2 separate regions of the Homo sapiens genome follow, and region 1 is linked to region 2. Evidence: promoter capture Hi-C in 16 types of primary human blood cells and fetal thymus (Javierre and others, 2016). All regions are on one chromosome and are shown on one strand. Each heading gives the region's core, a stretch centred on a gene start or on the middle of the fragment in contact. The rest is flanking DNA. Distances are from core to core; before and after follow the strand shown. Region 1 overlaps PUDP (pseudouridine 5'-phosphatase). Region 2 holds the start of NLGN4X (neuroligin 4 X-linked).

Region 1 (4,245 bases), core at 1,324-3,823, 860 kb before region 2:
CCAACGTTAGAGTCAGAGAGCAGTTTGCATGCAGGTTGTCACAGAGGCACATCTAGAACACAAGGAAACTCTCATGCATTCCATGTGCTTATTAAAAGGGCATTATACTGCGAAGTACTAGTCTAATAATTCTCTGCAAGGGATTTAAAAAAGGGATCAGGGGTTAGTACTACTTGCTAGAGTCAGAGGGCAATTTGTATGTAAATTGTTACAGTGGCAAATCTGGAACACAAGGACACTCACATGTATCCCATGCTATTAATAAAACGGCATTTTATTGTTTAAGTCCTAGTCTAGTCATTCTTTATAAGGGAAAACAAGGATCAAGGATCAGTACACCATGCTATAGTGAGAGGGAAATTTTCACGTTAAGTTGTTACAGAGACAAATCTACAGCACAGGGAAATATTGAGTCATTTTTAACATTAAGGTGTCAAGTCCTGCCTGGAGGAGGGGCACTTAGGGTCAGTAGGATCAGGTGGAGAGGCTTTTCTTCTAAAGTCCTAGTGCTTAGCAGAGGAATGAGAGAGACCATTCAGTCCCACTATCACATTGTACACCTGTAGTTGCAGCACTGTGGGAGGCCAAGGTAGGCAGATTGCTTGAGGACAGGAGTTTGAGACCAGCCTGGTAAAATCCTGTTGCTACTTAAAAAAAAAATTACACGCTGTAGTCCTACGTTTACTTCATAAAAACTAATGTAGAAATGCAAAATTAATTTTCCTTAAATAAAATTTCTGCATTACTCTCTATATTACTTTGTCTCTTTTATTTTCAATGGCTGAAAAAAATAGTTTTGTTTTAATTTTTATTATTTGATCCATCCTTAATTACCAGGCATTGATCAGTGGTTTGAATTGCCCTCCCTGGCTTTCCATTTTAATCTAAAATTCTGCTATAAGTCTATGAAATTGGACCAGAACACAAGCTGTGCCATCAGTGATACTGATAACGAGATTCTAGAGAAAGGTGCTTCTTTGGCTGGAGGAGTTTAGGCCGATCACATTTCAGTGACCCCGGAGAACATTAGACAGCACCTATTGCCACAAAGCAAGCAGCCAGCTGTGGGTAGAACAGCAAAGGCAGTCGGATGCTCATCGCCTGTATTGCCCTGGGACCAGCAGACCAAATAAATGTAAACTGGACTCTTGCAACTGTTTGTTTGAAGATTTGAAAGGAGTTAGTTTATATTTATTTTCATAACTGCTTTATTTCTGTCAGTATTTAATGTTTGCCAAAAAAGGAAACACAGGTTTCCCACACTGTCTCCCCATCAAGTATCACAAATTTGTGTGTCAAGTACCAGAATTTGAGAAAGATAATTAAGATGGTTTAAGGTCATCTCACAGATAGAACCTCAGTCTATCCAAGTTTTCTCCTCCAGGGTCAACCCACTGTATTAGCTTCCTGGTAGTGCTGTGTTAATTAACAAACTCCGTGGCTTAAAGCAGCAGAAACTTAACTGTCTGACACCTCAGAAGGCTAGAAGTCCGAAGTCAAGGTGTGAGCAGGGCTGCACTCCCTCTCAAGGCTCTAGGGAAGGATCCTTCCTGCCTCTTTTCAGCTGCTGGTAGTTGCCGGCCACCCTTAGCTTTCCTTGGCTTGTACCTTCAACTCCCCAATCTCTGTCTCCATTTTCACACGCCCTCCCTCGTCCTGTGTGTCTTTGTCTCCAAATTTCCCTCTCCTTTCTTTGGATTTAGGGTCCAACCTTAATTTAGTATGGCCTCATAATAACTTGATTACATCTGCAAAGACCCTATTTCCAACTAAGGTCCTATTCCCACGTTTTAGGTGAACATGAATTTTGTGGGGAGAGCACTGTCAAGCCAGTACACCTCCACCCATACTTTCCTACTCCCAGCTCAGACTGCCACTGTTCAGGTTGCCCCAGGAGGGCCCTGAGCTGGGGCGCGGACTCAGTCAGTCGTGTTTGGCTGGAGTGTTCCATGAGGTTCAGCCAGTCTTGCCAGAGCCTTGCTCCTCTTCCAGCCCCTCAACCCAATTCCTTTCTCCTGTTTCCTTTCCTTCCACACTACCACACTGTCTTACGTCCAGGATATAGGTTAGTCACTCAATTCCATAAGCCGGATCCTGTGGTGCAAATTCCATAAGTGGCGATCCCTGATATTAGCTTTGAGTTGGTGCCGGGTCCCTAGTAAATTAGGACTGAAGATCTGCACACAGCCAAGGGCCCTCTCCCTAGCAGCAAGCACCTTTTCAAAAGAGCAGAATTCATTTGGAAGGCCTAGAAAAAGGAAGGAGGTGCTCTGCCAAAATCAATGATGTCTGAGAAAGAAGCATGCTCCCTAGAGCTTGGAGAAGATCAGAAGAGGGATAGCCTGAGGCATGGCTCTGCAGTAAATCATTAAGAGACGCCCACTCACAGTGGCTGTGGCTACCAGAGGTTTCCTGTGAGGGAACTAAAAAGCGCACAGTAGTGTTTGTAAGTGATGGTTCCATTTTAATAGATAAACATACAGAACTTATAAAAAATCAAGAATCTATATTAGCCAGATTTCCTAAATTAGTTAATATTTCTTTTAAATTTATACTTAAAGTCACAGTTTTTAAAACTATATATATGAATGTGAATACTATATGCTTTGGGGAATTTGACTTTGGTTATTTTCTAGTGTCAAGGATAAACACAGCCAGACAGTAGTTAAAGCGATCAGCACAGATTTTCTTCCATAATATACTATTGCAATAGAGAAAAGAGACCAATGTGAAACTGGGCTCAACATCAATTATCCCAGAGGTGACTGGGCATTTTAAAGGGAAATTCAGGGAGTAGGGAGGGGTCAGCAGGGGCTCAGCAGAGTTGGGGAAGTGAAAATTGCAGAAAGCAGGAAGAGGGTTTGGTCAGTGTGAAGCCATCTGGGTTTCACTGGTGCTGATAGAAGTCAGGCTCCTGCCCTTCCACAGAGGCTTGTCTGCAGGAGTGGCTGGAACCAACAATCAGTTATTTTGGCAGCCTTGAGTTTTCGTAGGCAAGTACTTTAAGGGGGCTAGAGTCATGTAGCGGTGTGACCTTGAGCTGTTGAACTTGTTCAAGTCTTTATAGGCCAGTGTGGGGGCCTTGTGGAGAAAAAGACTCAGAGCAGCCTGAGTAGAGTCTGGTCCAGGAGACACTTTTGTCACTGAGCATGACCAATCCATTTATCACAATGGTAGCAGCGTGTCCTCATGGAATTATGTTTCCTTCGATAAATCTTGAACAAGAAATAAATGCATCAGCATATGTTTTTAAAAGTTAAACAGATGTTAAACTTAAAGGAAGTTTGCTAAAATCCATTTCGTGGACCCCTTTGTAAATACCTGACCTACACAGCTTACCCCTTATGATTTAAAGTTAACTTGCATCCATTTTATGGAATCCCAGGTGCCTGTTTGACCTGCAGACATCTTTCTCCCTTCTTGGTCACTCTCTCAGGGCATCAGCTCTTCACACAGCAACAGCTTCCTGCATGTGGCCCCTGACTGTCCATTGATGACCGAAGGCTCGTGGACTTGCCAAGTTGCCCACGTAAAACCCAGGGTTCAGAGAGCGAGACAAGTCCTTGCATTGTGAAGTGCCAACAATTCTAGTATTCCAAAGCTCAGTGTTGTTCAGAACATGGTACCCTTGTGAGATCACGTGTGACATTTGTGAAGAACCTGGAACTGATGTTTCCTTAGGAAGCCTCGCAACAGTAAGTGCTTTCAGCTCGCTCAAGGAACTTCAAGTAGGCAAGAAATAAGAATGGAAACCCTGCATTACTCCATCAGATCTTGAAAGTTTTCTCTTGGATAAATGTGCCTGTCAATCACATCGAATCTTATCCCCTGCCTCCATGTGCTATACCACAACAGCGACGTCTGCTGGACCGTGTGTGCTCTCTGGGTACACATTTTCCAGGAGGCAGCATCTTATTAGAGAGTAACAGGTCTGTCTTGTGTAAAGGAGAATGCTAACCGCTTCATGAGAAGGCTCCCCACCATGAACTCGGATAACCGGATGCTATTTTTTTAACTTATTTATTTTTTAATTGACAAATAGAAATCGTATATAGTTATCACACACAACGTGTTTTGAAGTATGTATACATTGTGGAGTGGCTGCGTCAAGGTAATGAACACATGCATCATCTCACTTTCTCATCATGTTTTGTGGGGAGAACACTTAAAATCTAGAATCTGAGTGATTTTCACATAGCCAAATGTTATTTTTAATGACCTTTGCCTTAATTGTCCATTCAATAT
Region 2 (3,920 bases), core at 1,421-3,920:
GTTGCCCTATTTTTCAAATTATTTTAAAAAACTCTCAATGGAGTCATTCAGATAGAAGTGAAAATGTGCTTGCCTGCTCTCTTCCAGGTCACATATCTCAGGGAAGAGATCTGGTACCCAACCAATCCACCCACAAGCTAAGCCAAGCATTCAGATTTTGCCCAAACTCTCCTTCCCAATCTTACTTTATCATGCTGCCTTATTTAGAAGTGATGTCTCCCCACATCAACTTCTCTTCCCTTCACTACCCTTCCCTTCCTTTTTCCTCCCTTCCCTTTCTCCTTTTCTCTTTCTCTCTCTGTGTCTCTCATTCAGGACTTCATTTGTTGCATCCATTCTTGCAACAATCTTACAAATATTTTCTTTTCTTTCCACGTTGGCCCTCTTCAACTTGTTCTCCATATTGCCATCACAGTGATTGTCCTAAAATATAAATCTGATCATTTCTTCCCCTCTCCCTGCAGAAAATATGTTACTGGCTTTCCCACTGCCTACTGGATAAATTCCACCTTTTCAGTATGGCACTCAAAATTCTTCACAATTAGGTCTTTAATCCTTTCCTTACCACCTTCTTTTCATACTCAATGTCATGGCATTCCAAACCCTCCCTATTTCTAGATCTCCACACATACAGTATTGCTATGATGTCTTTATCCATGGCTTCTTTCTCAACTTCTTGACCCAATCAGTGTCTGTGTACCATTTCTTCCCTACTCAGAAAGTTCTTCCTTTGCAAACCCTTCTTTAATCATTTTCACCTCCATGGGTCCCTATGAATTCATATGTATTCCTTGTGCACACCTTCTTGTAATCATATTTTTTCTCATGCTTTTGGCTATCTTGTCCACTAGACTGTATGCTTTCTCAAAAATAAATGGATGAGTTTCACTCACAGATGCATGTCAGTGCTTAGGACTGCACCAGTGCTAAAAAAAAAACAACCCTGAATTTATGAATAAGTCAATGAATTAATACATTCTTGGCAAAACCCATGACTTTCTGGCCTACTATAAATTACTGTGTTCAAGGTGAGATTCTGCTTTAGTTTAGGATATAGATATCTATATATATGTCCATATATCTGCAGCTATATATCCATATCCATGTATATCACTGATTTGGGGAATAAGCTATACTTATTAACAATATTACTATGTTAATGGGTCTTCAATATCTATACAATAACGGAAAAAGTACATGCATATTTCTAAATATCTATCCAATAATTGGAACACACACGTATGTATGGATGGATATATTTTTTTTTATTATTGGGTATAGATATCTATTAATAGATAAGTGTATATTTATGTACCTATCTTGTTGGTAAAAGGTGCTTTTATACATATTATTTCATTTAGTCTCCACAAGAAATCCACAGGAAAGGTAATTTTAATCTCAGTTTAACAGATTCACAGAACATAACTGACTTTACAACAAGGCAAAGTTTGTGAGGATAGAGTCTTAACATGAAACCAGGTCCCCAAATTGGTGTCTATCACCTTCCCCATTATTGGTCAGGCTGCCCAAATATCCTTCACATCACCATGGCAGGCTTCATGCTTTGGTTTACTGCCTAAAGCCGAAGCAATTAGGAGGATATCCTATGTGTTGCGGACACTATCTTTTTCCTTCCATAAATGAATTAATGGGCCATGAAATAATTTTAAGAAAAGCTAACTTTTCTGGCCAAGCAGAAGAATAAAAGTAATCACCATGTAATATTGTTGTGAAGACTACCTGGCCCCACACATTAACTCAGCTAATCATTACAGTATTACACGGTGATTATCTGTTCCATTTTACAGATACAGAAATGGAGGCAAACGATTAAAATACACACCTAAGGTCACATGCATCTTGAACCCAAGCAATCTCATTTTAAAATCCGTGTTCATTGTCACAACACTCTATTATGCCCTCTGATCTTTGCATTGCCAATTTAAATCCAACTTTCTCCAACTCAACTTTAAGTACAGGGGTCATACCCCCGTCCTCGCCCCCCGCAACTTGAAACTCCCTGGGAAAGATAACCTCCTGGACCCTGGAAATGAAGAGGCGTATTTAAAAACAAATGCCTCATCCTGGGCACAATTCCAACATTTTATCAAAATCATGAAAGTATAAGAATAGAAGTAAACAAAAAGCTTTCATCGATCCCCTCTCAACCATACCCTGAGCATAAAACAGGTCCTGTACTTTACAGAACTGTATTCCAAATTTTGCTGCTCTTAAAAATTTTTTTTATATCATTGCTTCCCAAATGAATTACAATAACGCAGACATAGAGACTGCTGGAGATCGTGACCTTAAACAGTTAAAGATGTTTGCATATACTGCAGCATGTTTGGTGTGGAGGGTATCTAGAGAGTCCTAAAAAAGCAAAGAGGAAGAAGGTTTGCTGTACGCGTCTGGTGCGGTGGCACCGTTTGCCATGCCCACCTGCTCTATCTCCCGAGTACCCGGGATCTCTCCGTTACAGCTGGTTTGCATTGGGATTAGCAGCTCTTTGCATGAGGTTGTAGCTGTGGATGTGGTTTCTGTAGTGATGGGGCCGACTCCGGAGATCTATTGGCTGCTGGCTTTGTAAATTTCATTCAGTTTGGTCCAATGGCAGAGGGAGAGCCCCGGAGACAGCAGGACCTCTCTCCTCAATCTCTCTTTTTCTTGCAGAACCGTCTCTCTCCCTTCTCTGTCTCTTAGCACAGAGCTCTTATTCAGCCACTAGCTTGGCCCTTCCTGCTTCAATTGTAATGCTTGTTCTGCCCGTCCACAGACTATTGGCGGCAGAAACAACGAATTTCCTCCAAACTAGGCGGTGTTGGTGGCTCTTGCATTCCTCTGGATGAGGAAATCTAGTTGGGGGGTTCCAGAAGGGGAAGGCTCCTGGGCTTTCAATACATCCTCCTGAATCATACCTCGTTTCGGGTTCCCTAGAAAAATCTGGACGTGTAAAAAGAACTCTTAACGGCCGATGCAGCTCTTCCAAAGCTAAGGTAGGTGCAGTTTTAAGACCTGTCTCTGGGACATTATTCTCATTTTAAAAAGCCGTTTAAACATTTTGACTTGCAGCAAAGGATGGAAAGCCTCACTGCAGATACTTGAGCTTCACTTCATCTGATCTTTATTTTTTCCTTTTATGATTATTAATATTATTTTTGGAAAATTTGGACAGGACTTTCTCCCATCTGTCTCGCTGCATTTCTTAGGTGTGGGTGGGAGTGTAGACCTTCATACGGTTTTTACATGCAACCTCTCCACAGAAATATTTGGTTTTATTTTCACTTAAAGAGAAAAATCCAGACCACCGTTGTTTGGAAGCGTTTTGCTGCAATCAGCTATTTGAACGGCTCTGGGGCCGTGTGTGATGTGTTTACAAAGTAGCGCTGCCTTCCACACAAATAAACAGAAGACTGTGGCGGGGAGAGGAGGAAAAAAATATATATGTATCTGCAGTACAGGGAGAAGAAGGAGAGAAGCGGCCAGGGCTGGAGATGGTGAAGGCAGGAAGACTTCTGCAAACTGTGAGGCATGGGAGGCTTTTCTTTTCTTTTTCTCTCCCCCCCCACCCCCCCCCCTTATTCTTTAAGAAAACTGTCAGCTACCACCGCCTGGGGTGCTTTTTTGAGGGGTTGGGGGGGTGCTGTTAACCAGAAAGAAAAAGGGAAAACCGGCTTGGTTGGGGTCGCATTTAAGCGATTTTTTTTCCCTCCTTCATCTCCGGGCCTCGGATAAGATGACGGCTTGGGTGATGCACGAAATAACGCACGTGATTGATTAGACCTGGCTTGGCTTGGCTAGGGAACGATCCAGGCGCGCTGGAGACCCCGCGTGAAGATGAAATGACGGTAGCTCCGGGCTGCTTCTGTAAACCGGGGAGCGGGCTCCATGCACCCCTTTCCCGTGTGTGTGGGTTTCGA

What was found. The method cuts DNA at HindIII sites, captures the fragments that hold promoters and counts their contacts. A CHiCAGO score of 5 or more calls a contact.
Region 1: a fragment that was not itself captured here is called in contact with the fragment with the promoter of NLGN4X in region 2 in 1 of 17 cell types (fetal thymus); the score reaches 12.1 in fetal thymus.

Annotation. Positions count from the first base shown.
Region 1 is chrX:7,084,663-7,088,907 of GRCh38, reverse strand. The region is part of intron 2 of PUDP (pseudouridine 5'-phosphatase); the gene reads left to right. Among named protein-coding and RNA genes, the nearest start is that of STS, 61 kb to the left of the region's middle. The HindIII fragment of the contact is 6,973 bases long and covers 1-4,245 here.
Region 2 is chrX:6,227,617-6,231,536 of GRCh38, reverse strand. NLGN4X (neuroligin 4 X-linked) reads left to right here and starts at 2,670. Exons shown (of 6, transcript NM_181332.3): 1 at 2,670-2,996. LOC105373156 (a long non-coding RNA gene) reads right to left here. Exons shown (of 1, transcript NR_136577.1): 1 at 1,246-3,920. The HindIII fragment of the contact is 2,801 bases long and covers 2,150-3,920 here.